Linked DNA regions of Homo sapiens: regions 1 and 3 are each linked to region 2. Evidence: promoter capture Hi-C in 16 types of primary human blood cells and fetal thymus (Javierre and others, 2016). All regions are on one chromosome and are shown on one strand. The core of a region is centred on a gene start or on the middle of the fragment in contact, and the rest is flanking DNA. Distances in the headings are between cores, read along the strand shown.

Region 1 (4,078 bases), core at 1,017-3,516, 640 kb after region 2:
TCACTCTCTCCTCTCTGACCTTGAGTGTTTCCATCTGCAAAATGAGAAAGTTCGACTGTTTGAATGTTAAAGGCCCTTCTGTTTCTCAGGTTTTGTCCTCTTTCCCAGAGCTTTCTTCCCCTTAGGGTCTCCCAAGGAGCCAGAAGATTGCTCCTTGAGCAGAGAAAAGGGTTGGGAGGGAAAGTGCGGTGGAGGAGTAAAGGGCATTGATTAAACTGTCTCAGAGCCCTCCTATGTACCCTTTCCTGTCCTTCCCCATGGAGCCCTTAGAACCCCTGACAGTGAGACAGAGGAAAAACCTCTCCTGTGCCTTCCCTTTGCACAAGTCCATGGAACGGCCTCTGCATCAAGGAAAGGAAGGAGCTGGAGAAAACAAAAGGTAAAAGCTTTCCCAGAGGAAGGTGTTGTTGAGTTTGAGTCCCAGCTGGGAGCAGCCCCCAGCTCAGGACACTGCTGCTATTGTCTGACAGTTCCAGGACTGGCTGGGTGCCCAAGATGCTTTGATTTTTCTTCTCTTTGCCCTGTTTGTCTGCCAGAAGGCAGGGACAGTTTTTGTTTTCTTTTGGTAGCAGCTACAGAGGGGCTGAGTATGTCTGAAACATAGTGAGCAACTGAATGTCCACTGGCCGGCCACCTCTCCATGGACAGAAATCAGAAAAGCAAGGCAGGCAGAAGAGTTAATAGGGTCTGCCCTGCCTCTCCCAGTGATGCTCAATGAGGGAAGTGGAGGAAGAGGAGAAAGGGGACCTCGAATGCCGAATCAGGGAGGACCCTGGGGATGTGCTGAGGAACAGGGTTCCGGGAGCTTGCCGGGTCAGACAAAACTTGACAGCTGCTACTCCAGGAATCCATCCCCCAGTTACAATTCATCCTTGCCTGCTGGCAAGAGTTCCTTGAGCCGAGAAGACTGCCACTACCCAGGATGATTGCATCAGGGGCCTTCTGCCATGGATAAATGGGGAGCTGCTGCATTGGTTCTTAGCCTCTCTCCTTTCCCCATACTTGAAGTGAGGGCCCATAAGCTCCTGTGAGCCTATAAGACTGCCAAGATTGCCCTCCAAGCTGTTCCCCAAGGCCAAAGGTCGAACTTCTTCCCAGTTCTTCACTACTTTACTATTACCATCCCACTTCCATACTCAGTGGAGAGAGGGAAATTGTGTTTAGCTGTAGCCCCAACAGGAATCTAGGGCCTGCATGGCCTAGTTGAGAAGTTGTTTCTATTTCCAGAGAATTGCAGGGGATACACTTTCTTTATCCACAGCTATCCCTACTCCTAAGGAGGTACATAAACCAGGCCTTTGTATGCAGCTTTCTAAATAGTTAAATGTGTCTGAGGAAGGGGGAGGCCCATGGAAAGGACCACCCAGACAGAAAGTCTAGAAAGCTCTGCTCTAATGAAGCTGACCCAGAGGGAGAGAGACTGGGCAGGAGAACACATTCTACTGGAAGCCAGTATGACCTGTCCTTGGCCTGAGCCATCTGCCACTACCCAGGATGATTGCATCGGGGCCTTTCTGCCATGGATAAATAGAGAGAGGCTGCATTTGTTCTTAGCCTGTCTCCTTCCCCCACACTTAAAGTGAAGGACCATTCCCTAATCTCTGGCTGCAGCCCTGGCACCAAATACTTGATAGGTACGCCAGGCGCGGTGGCTCACGCCTGTAATCCCTGCACTTTGGGAGGCCAAGGTGGGTGGATCACCTGAGGTCAGGAGTTCAAGACCAGCCTGGCCACCATGATGAAACCCCATCCCTACTAAAAATACAAAAAGTTAGCCCGACGTGGTGGCGGGCGCCTGTAATCCCAGCTATTCAGGAGGCTGAGGCAGGAGAATCGCTTGAACCCAGGAGGTGAAGGTTATAGTTAGCCAAGATGGCACCACTGCACTCCAGCCTGAGCAACAAGAGCAAAACTCCATCTCAAACAAACAAATACTTGATAGGTGCTATTGGCCTCAACCTGCCCACAGGGAAGGAGCATACATACCCAGGCTTGGCCCCTAAATATAACAGGTGGTGATGGGGCTGCCCAGGACCCCCACTTCCCTCCTCCACATCTCAGGGTCATTGACTCTGCTTGGCCTAGATAACAGAAGCAGCCAAAAGCTGGCGAGTGAGAAGCCTAGAGGAATGCCAGAGAAAGCAAGCCTGCCTTGCCTCCACCATGAATTAACTCCCACATGAACCCACCCCTGAAGCCAGACTGGTCACTTTACCCAGCACTGTGTGTATGTGAGTGTGGGCTGCCTCACTTTTCCTGGCACTGTTCCTCAGCCATATGTATTATCTCATTTAATCCTTATGTTAATGTCAGAGATTATGTGACTTCCCTGAGATCTCACAACCAGCAAATGAAAGATCCAGACCATGAGCCATTCCTTTTCCTTTTAGATTCTGTCATCCTCCCACCTCTCCCATCCAGTTCCTTTCACTTCTGGAAACATCCCTGAGTACCCCCAACTCAGTGGTTTCCCCTGTGGTCTCTGTGCTCCCCCTCAGGCTATGAACTTCTAAAAAGCAGGTACCCTGCAACACCAGAACCCAGCAAAGGAATGGACACATAAGAGATCCCAAGGCTGGGCGCGGTGGCTCATGCCTGTAATCCCAGCACTTTGGGAGGCCGAGGCGGGTGGATTGCCTGAGCTCAGAGTTCAAGACCAGCCTGGGCAAAACGGTGAAACTCTGTCTCTACTAAAATACAAAAAAATTAGCCAGGCGTGGTGTCACGCGCCTGTGGTCCCAGCTACTCGGGAGGCTGAGATGGGAGGATCACTTGAGCCTGGGCAGTAGAGGCTGCAGTGCACCAAGATCATGCCACTGCACTGCAGCCTGGGTGACAGAATGAGACCCTGTCTCATTGAAAAAATTTAAAAAAAGGAGATCCCAAGACGTTTGTTTCATGAGTCAGTAATGAGATTTAATTAGATTGCTTTTATCCTGTTATTTGGAGAATATCTCTAGTTTAGGCCCAAAACACGTACCCAGGACCAGTGGAAATGACAGTGAAACAAGCTGTTCTATCATAAAGGAGGCTGCTTGCAGAAAGAGAAGAGAAGCCTCTTTATCCCTTCCTATTCCTGGGGTCTATGGCTTTGGCTCTGGCTGAGCTTAGCTGGGCTCAGGAAACCATTTTGTTTGGGAGAAGACAGGTCATTTTGTAGCTTGGAGCAGCCAGACAGCACTAGGCCCTAGGTTGGAAAGGCTGGAAACTGTAGACCCATTTCTTCCATCCTAGTCTTTGAACTATAAGGCAAGAGGTTTCCTTAATAGACAGACTTGGCCTTGGAAGCATCCATAGAAATGGTGGACTTTGTCACAATTGTTAGCAGTGATGGGCCTATGATGAAAGCAGAGTCCCAAGGCCCAAGTGGTTACAAATCTATTTATCCATGGACCTTATGTCTTGCAGAGTCTGGTAAAAAGGAAGGAGATTAAGACTTACTTAAAGCATAGCATCGGGAGTTGTACTCCTGATGACAACCAGTGCTGAGTCCAGGCCACTCCCTGTCTTCAGCTATTGCCCCAAGAGCAAACTAGGGGCCCATACAGACTTAAGTTAGAGGCTGTTTCTATTTCAGAGACTTGCTAGGGGTACAGTTCTTTTTAACCTTAAATTTTTTATGTTATCATTATTATTGTTTTTTGAGGCAGGGTCTCACTTTGTCGCCCAGGCTGGAGTGCAATGGCACAATCACAGCTCGCTGCAGCCTCTATCAACTCTCCTGCCTCAGCCTCCCAAGTAGCTGGGACTACAGGTGTGCGCCACCACACCCAGCTAATTTTTTATTTTTTGTAGAGATGGGGTCTCACTATGTTGCCAGGGCTTGAACTCCTGGCCTCAAGCAATCCTCCCGCCTCAGCTTCCCAAAGGGCTGGGATTACAAGCATGAGCTACCATGCCACTTTATGCTCAGCAGGACACACTCTATAACAGGGAGAAGAAAGTGCTATTCAGGTAGGCTGCTTTTCATGTGCAGTTACTGTTTGGCCAACAGCATCATACATATATTAGTTCCTCCATAGGCATTTTTCTGGGTGAATGGACAAATGGAAATGGCAAACCTGTTAGGTGTTCACCC
Region 2 (3,712 bases), core at 436-2,935:
CTCGCTATGTTGCCCAGGCTGGTCTCAAACTCCTGGCTTCAAGTGATCCACCTTGGCCTCCCAAAGTGCTGAGATTACAGAAGTGAATCACTGTGTCTGGCCATATTTTTTTTTTTTTTTTTTTTTTGAGACGGAGACTTGCTGTGTCGCCCAGGCTGGAGTGCAGTGGTGCGATCTTGGCTCACTGCAACTTCTGCTTCCCGGGCTCAAGCGATTCTCTTGCCTCAGCCTCCTGAGTAGCTGGGACTACAGGCACGCGCCAATACACCCAGCTAATTTTTCTATTTTTAGTAGAGACGAGGTTTCACCATGTTTGCCAGGATGGTCTCGATCTTCTGACTTCGTGATCCCCCTGCCTCGGCCTCCCAAAGTGGTGGGATTACAGGCGTGATCCACTGCTCCCGGCCCTGGCCATATTTCTTAAACTTTATGGCCACCAGGAATGCATACCACTTATACTCTTCCAGGAGGATGAAAGTCTTAAGATGTCTGAAAAGGGGTCTCTAACCCCTGGGAGTGCTAATACAGTAAGGCCCATACTGCTTGCTCTTGCCCTCCTCCTGTTCTAGTCTCTTCAGTCATGAGATTATGAGCTCCTGATGTCCAGGCACATGCAAAAAGTGAAGAAATATGTGCCTTGAACAGCTGGGCAGAATTCTTAGCTGGGAGCGGTGGCTCACGCCTGTAATCCCGGCACTTTCGTAGGCCAACGTGGGCCGATCACTTGAGTCCAGGAGTTACAGACCAGCCTGGGCAACATGGTAAACCCCGTCTCTACAAAATATACAAAAAATTAGTCAGGCATGCTGGCGTGTGCCTGTAGTCCCAGCTATCCGGGGAGGCTGAGTTGGGAGGATCATCTTAATCCAGGAGTTTGAGGCTGCAAGTGAGCCATGATCGCTCCATTGCACTCCATCATCCTGGGCGACAGAGTGAGACCCTTCTAAAAAAAAAACAACCAACAAAAACAACAAAAAATCCCAACTTATTCCCCACCAGCTTTCTTTCAAAATCTGTTTTCAAGCTAGCTGAAGTGTTACCTCCTCTAAGCTTTCACTTAACCGAATCTCATAGTCATGATTAATTGCTTCCCTAGCATTTTGTTTAGCTCTACTGATTGCTCTTACTATTTCAAGTCGGTATTATTGATATATTTTTTCCTCCTCACTATACTGAAATCCTGCAGGACGCAGCATTCTTACCGCTTTTCCTTACTCAGCTATACCTTGACCAACCCGAAAGCCGCGCCAGTCTAGTCCATTTTCTATTGGCTTTATCAATTACCAATCATTTCTGTGTTTAACATTTTTATTGGTCCATCTTGTGTTTACTGCCCCGCCCTCTAAGAGGCTCCTGGACTTGGGTTTCCCCCAGGTGTATTCCCTCCTCCTCGGTTCCGCCTTTCCCACACACTGCTTCTTCTGTTTTTACCTCGACTTCCTTCCTATTGGTTCCCTTCGTCCTCCGGAGTTGGCACCTACGGCTGTTGATTGGCTTTTCTGGACGCCCATTGTGCCCACCCTCATACCACGTGGCATTCCTAGCGCTAATTGGGCAATTCCACTACCTCGTTTATCAGGAGTTGACGGTTGACTGGCTACTCTGAGGGAGGGCTTGAGGGAGGGGCGTGGCCAGCCGAGACCCCGCCCCCAACCCCCCTGCTGGGCCGGGTAGGCGTTTCAGTCTTTCGCGGCCCGGGAGCTCAGCAGAGCTACCAGCTGCCCTGTTGGCTTCGCTGGTCGGATCGTCCTCCTGGCCCCGCCAAACAGGCGGGGGGAGCGGCCCCGACTGTGGGGCCATGGCAGTAGTCTCCTCGTTCGCCGCCGCCGCTAGCCTAGCTGAGTCGCCGGCTTCTGCGCTAGGGGCTCCCACCGCCTCCGCAGGCTAAGGAGCCGCTGCCACCAACGAGCTGTGAGGGTTACTATGCTCCCTCTTTGCCGCCGTCTCCTCCTCTTGCCCGCGCAGGCACCCCTCTGGCTGCTCAGTCCTGCCTCAGGTAACGTGAAAAGAGGACGGGGGTCACAAACCCGGGCATCCTGCCTGGCCCGCGCGCGCTGCCGCTCCACCTCCTCTGCCCCGGAGCAGAGGCGCCTGCGTCCCTCCGCACCCGACGGGACCCCTCGGCTTCCCAGAGGTCCCCCTCTCAGCGGCGGCGGACGCTCCCTTCCTGGCCGCTTTCCCCTTTCCTTCTCACTTCCCTCAGGCTCCCCGCCACGTCTGCTCCCCCTTAGAACCTGGGAACCCATTAGAAGTTACCTCGCTCGCATTAGGGATCTTTCGTTTTCTCGGAAAACTCTTGTTTCAGAGACTTCCAGCTCCCCACTGAGCGCCTCCCTGCTCGCATACCCGCTCCTGCCTCAGAGATCTGGGTTCCTTCACTTGACTTCCCTCCGATACACTCTTCCCTCGAAAACGTTCACCTCTACCCAGGAAAACAATTCCCTCCCCTCAGACCCTACTGCCTTCCCCCTCTTCTTTCCTCGCTTGTCATCGTCTCCCTTCCTTTCCCCTCTCTGCTTTTTACTCTTCGCTGTGAAGAGTGGACTAAGCCAGTGTTCAGATTTCGCTACAAGCGAAATCCAGGTTTGCGTAATTTAAAAGTCTTTAAATTGTATACCTCTGAGAAGAACTTGCTGAGGAATTTGGACTTCATGCTGCATGCATGGGGAGCCGTTGAAGGTTTTGTAAGCAGGAGCTTGGTATGATTGCATTATCTTTGGTGAAAATATAGAGGAAGGATTGAAAGTGAAGACCGTGGAGGCGGAAAGGCCAGGTAGGCAGAAAACGAGTGTGCTCATCCAGGCGGGAGGGAATGGCCCGAAATTCCAAGAGGTTTCAAAATAAAGTTGAGAAGAATAGTAGAAAGTTTCTGACTTGGCTGATGGTGTGAATCGGTAGTGTTAATTGAAATAGGGAACATAGTCTCTGGTTATACCACCCTCAACGCTCCTGATCTCATCTGAAATAGGGAGCATAAAAAAGCAATTTTGAGAGAAGGTAATAAATTTGGTTTTGAACAAGTTAAGTTTCAGGGTTTGTTTGTTAGTTTTTGTTTTTTTTGACGGAGTCTCATTCTGTCACCCAGGCTGGAGTGCAGTGGCACGATCTCAGCTCACTGCCACCTCCTCCTCCCAGGTACAAGCGATTCTCCTGCCTCAGACTACCGAGTAGCTGGGATTACAGGCATGCGCCACCACGTCCGGCTAATTTTTGTACTTTTAGTAGAGACGGGGTTTCCCCACGTTGGCCAGGCTGGTTTCGAACGTCTGACCTCAGTCAATCCGCCCACCTCGGCCTCCCACAGTGCTGGGATTACAGGCGTGAGCCACTGCTCCCAGCCGAGTTTGAGGTGTTTTGAAATATCACTGTGGGTATCTGGAAATTTGGGTCTGAAAATTGGGAGAAAGCTTGGACCTGGATACATAAATTTGGAGGGTCAAGAGAATATATGGGGGATATTTGTGTGCCTTAGTATGGAATGGTAATACTGAAAGATGAGAAGGGCTGTGGACCAGAAGGAGCATCATTGTTTGAAAGGTAATAGACACTGAAAAAGAGAGATTAAAGGAACGGGACAAGAACTAGAACATAACAGCATTATAATAGGAGCCAAAGAAAGGATTTCAAGAAGGGAGTGGGGGGCGGTGACTATCAATGTCACGTGCTTTCGAGGTCCAGCTGAATGAGAGTTAAGAAGCTTTTTTTTTTTTTT
Region 3 (3,505 bases), core at 297-2,796, 690 kb after region 2:
GCTCCGGAGGCTCCAACCGGGCTGCCAGCCCAAAATCCCCCACCTTCAGTTCCATGTTCTCAGTGATGAAAAAATTTCCTAGATGGGGCAAGAGAGGTGTGTCAGATTCTTTCCTTCCTCCCTCCCTCCCTCCCTCCCCAACCTCCCATCCTCCAGGCTCAGGAGTCTCACCCAACTTGAGGTCCCGGTGCAAGATGCCGCGCTGGTGCAAGTACTTGAGGCCAGAAAGGATCTGCCGCAGGTAGTAGCGCACTTCTGGCTCCAACAGGGTGTGCCGGGCCTTCCAGATGTGGGCCAGGGACTGCAGAGAGCCACTGCCTCAGCCCCTGGTGAGCCCTCCCTCCCCCTCCCCCTCCATCTGTGCTCCCTGAGGAAGAAACAGGGCCCCAGCTTTGGGTCTTAAGACTGTCTTCTCGGCTGGGTGTAGTGGCTCACGCCTGTAATCCCAGCACTTTGGGAGGCCAAGGCAGGTGTATCACAAGGTCAGGAGTTTGAGACCAGCCTGACCAACAGGGTGAAACCCTGTCTCTACTAAAAATACAAAAATTAGCCGGGCGTGGTGGTGCATGCCTGTAATCCCAGCTACTCAGGAGGCTGAGGCAGGAGAATTGCTTGAACCCGGGAGGCAGAGATTGCAGTGAGCCGAGATCGCGCCACTGCACTCCAGCCTGGGCAACAGAGCAAGACTCCATCTCAAAAAAAAAAAAAAAAAAAAAAAAGACTGTCTTCTCTCCCTCACTCTCATCCCTGCGGGAATCACCATCTTTCACCTTTCGGCTGCAGAGCTCCAAGAAAATGTAGATGTTGTCAGCGTCCTCAAAGTGGTGCGAAAAACGCACGATGTGGCGGTGCTGCAGGTCTCGGTGCAGCTCAATCTCATTTAGGATCTGCGATGAGGGCGCGGAGTCGTCATCCTTCCATGGTTCCCATGCCACCGTCCCCACCCCACCCCTCGCCCGCTGAGCCTGGACCCACCTTCTCGCGCTGATGCGGCTTGGCGACGCGGCTCTGCGGGATGACTTTGACAGCGTAGGCGCTGCCAGTCTCTGTGTCAGTGGCCTCGTAGCAGCGGGCGAAGCCCCCCTGTGAAGAGGGGGCATCAGGCTGGTTGTTCCAGGGGGGCCGAGTCTGGCCCGCGGGCGTCCCCGCGTTGGGGGTCAAGTGCCCACGCCCTGCTCGGCGCCAGAAAAGAGGCCGGCCGGGACCCCCACCTCCACCATCACCACCCCGCGGACGTCCCTCGGCCCACCTTGCCCAACAAGCGGCCTTTGAGGTAGGTGCGGCCGCTGCGCGGGTCCGTGATGAGGCGCCCGGGGTCTGACGTCGGTAGCCCGGCCAGCATCTCCAGCTCAGGTCCGCGCAAGGCACTCGGAGGCGGCCCGGGCCCGGCCGGGGGAGCGGGCGCGGCGGCCGCACGCTGGAAGGGGCGCGGAGACAGGAAACCGGCGGCAGGCTCCATGCGGCCGGCGCGTCGCAGCGCGGTCCCGGCTTCTCGGTTCCGCCCGGCCCCGGCCGCGCGTGGCGCTGCCTGGATTTGCTACGCTGCGCTGGCGCCCAGGGGAGCCCAGCGTTTTATCAATGAACGCCTGCCCCCTCCCCGGCGTCTGGTCACCGAGAGTCCCGCCCCCTTCCTAGCAGCGAGTCGAGGAGAGGCCACTCCCATTCCCGGCCTTACATCACCCAGAAGCTCCTCCCCCACCCAACGCACTGCCAGACCCCGCCTCCTCGCCGCGCCCCGGGGCGCAGCCCGGCAGCTAGTCACCATGCAGGTGCAACCAGGCCGCAGGGGCCAGCTGATCCCTGTCCGCCTCTCACCCCTCCTTGGCCACTGCGAGTCCCGCTCGTGGGGGCCTCTTTCTTTCCCCATCCTTCGGGATGTGTGCTGAAGTCCGAGTGGGGCCCGGGCATCTGGGGGCGTCTCCCCAGCAACTAGATAGATCAGCGTTCCAGCCAGCAGCGGAGAGGCAGGGGCGGCGCTCGCTTTTGCCCGGGCATGTTACCCGACACTCCCCTTTCAGTGTGCCGGACCGCGTGTGTCCCTCGCCCTCGCCCGGGGCCCGGCCCAGTGCTGCCCTCTTTAGGGCCTGGAAGGAAGGCACAGTCTCGCGCCTGGCTTGCCTGGCCCGAGGGCTGCCTTGCCAGGTTTAGGAGTCAAGCAGAGTCTGGAATTTCAAGGCTTTTACCATGCTCCAGGCCACATCTTCCGCTACCCACTTCTACACTCTTGAGGGGCAAATTTCGGGTTCCTCCGGGGTCCGCAATTCCCTTCCTCTGAAAATACCCCCGGGCCTGGGTCAGCAGCCAGAGGCCAGAAAGTGAATGGGAATTGGATTTTCTTTTTTCTTTCTTTCTTTCTTTTTTTTTTTTTTGAGACAGAGTTTCGCTCTTGTTGCCTAGGCTGGAGTGCAATGGCGCGATCTTGGCTCATCGCAAACTCTGCCTCCCAGGTTCAAGCGATTCTCCTGCCTCAGCCTCCCGAGCAGCTGGGATTACAGGCATGCGCCATCACACCCGGCTAATTTTGTATTTTTTTTTTTTTAAGTAGAGACGGGGTTTCTCCATGTTGGTCAGACTGGTCTGGAACTCCCAACCTCAGGTGATCTACCCGCTTCGGCGTCCCAAAGTGCTGGGATTACAGGCGTGAGCCACCTTGCCTGGCTGGGAATTGCATTTTCTCAAATGCTAGACACGGGCACTTGGGCAGCTAGTCTCTGGACCACGTGGACCCCTAGACCCCTGCGCAATGCCCACCCTTCCCAGGGCCAGAGACAGAGGCCCAGGACCACAGGCCTCCTGGCCTTGTCTCTCACCTCTCTGCCCTCCCTCTGTGCCAGCCAATCAATTACCATGCCATTCCTCAAAGATTTATTGAGAGCATCTGCTAAGTGCTGGACACTATCTCGAATAAAACTAATCAAGCTTGCAGCCCTCATTTAGTTTACATTCTGCTTGATGGAAACAGACAATAGGCAAGCAGATAAACAAGGTAATTGCAGGCTGTGAAAAGTGCTATGAAGGAAGAATAAACAGAAGAGCAAATGAAGAGCCTACTTTAGAAAGAGTAGCCAGGAAAGTCAACAAATATTTGCTGAGTACCCAATTTGTGCCAATTTTACCTCCCAAATAGCTCTGATATCTATCCCCTTGGCTCCATCTTCCCCTCACACCCTGGCCTGGGCCACAGTCTCTCTTGTCAGGATGATTGCCACAGCTCCTTGCTGCTCTCCTGGCCTTTGGTCTCATGCCCATTTCATCCCCTCCATATGCTATTAGAGGGATCCCACCCAATCCCTCATCAGACTCACGAGGGCAAACTTCTCCAACCTTGTCCTTCATGACCACTGAAGGGAGACCCACGATAGCCTCAGATGTGGAGAAATACTAGTAGCCAAAATTACTGAGGGGGAGTTGGGGATAGGGATGGGCAGGAAGACCCTAAGTGCCTGCTCAAGAGTCTGGTCTTTATCCTTATAGGTCAGCAGTCTTCCAGAGGGGAGATGGTGGT

What was found. Contacts are between HindIII fragments. The CHiCAGO score rates a contact against its expected background, and 5 or more counts as called.
Region 1: a fragment that was not itself captured here is called in contact with the fragment with the promoter of TESK2 in region 2 in 7 of 17 cell types (fetal thymus, naive CD4 T cells, endothelial precursors and 4 more); the score reaches 7.8 in fetal thymus.
Region 3: a contact is called between the fragment with the promoter of PLK3 here and the fragment with the promoter of TESK2 in region 2, in 17 of 17 cell types (naive CD4 T cells, total CD8 T cells, non-activated CD4 T cells and 14 more). The highest score is 20.8, in naive CD4 T cells.

Annotation. Positions count from the first base shown.
Region 1 is chr1:44,845,386-44,849,463 of GRCh38, reverse strand. No RefSeq gene overlaps it. Among named protein-coding and RNA genes, the nearest start is that of PTCH2, 4.2 kb to the right of the region's middle. The HindIII fragment of the contact is 3,756 bases long and covers 389-4,078 here.
Region 2 is chr1:45,489,136-45,492,847 of GRCh38, reverse strand. TESK2 (testis associated actin remodelling kinase 2) reads left to right here and starts at 1,685. Exons shown (of 11, transcript NM_007170.3): 1 at 1,685-1,996. RefSeq lists enhancers at 1,397-1,691, 1,978-2,027 and a silencer at 1,528-1,747. The HindIII fragment of the contact is 2,357 bases long and covers 1,053-3,409 here.
Region 3 is chr1:44,798,418-44,801,922 of GRCh38, reverse strand. It overlaps PLK3 (polo like kinase 3), which reads right to left and starts at 1,546. Exons shown (of 15, transcript NM_004073.4): 1 at 1,250-1,546; 2 at 976-1,083; 3 at 771-887; 4 at 172-301; 5 at 1-78. The coding sequence starts at 1,459. RefSeq lists enhancers at 870-919, 1,690-2,079, 2,130-2,189, 1,874-2,542 and a silencer at 1,310-1,589. The HindIII fragment of the contact is 10,835 bases long and covers 1-2,921 here.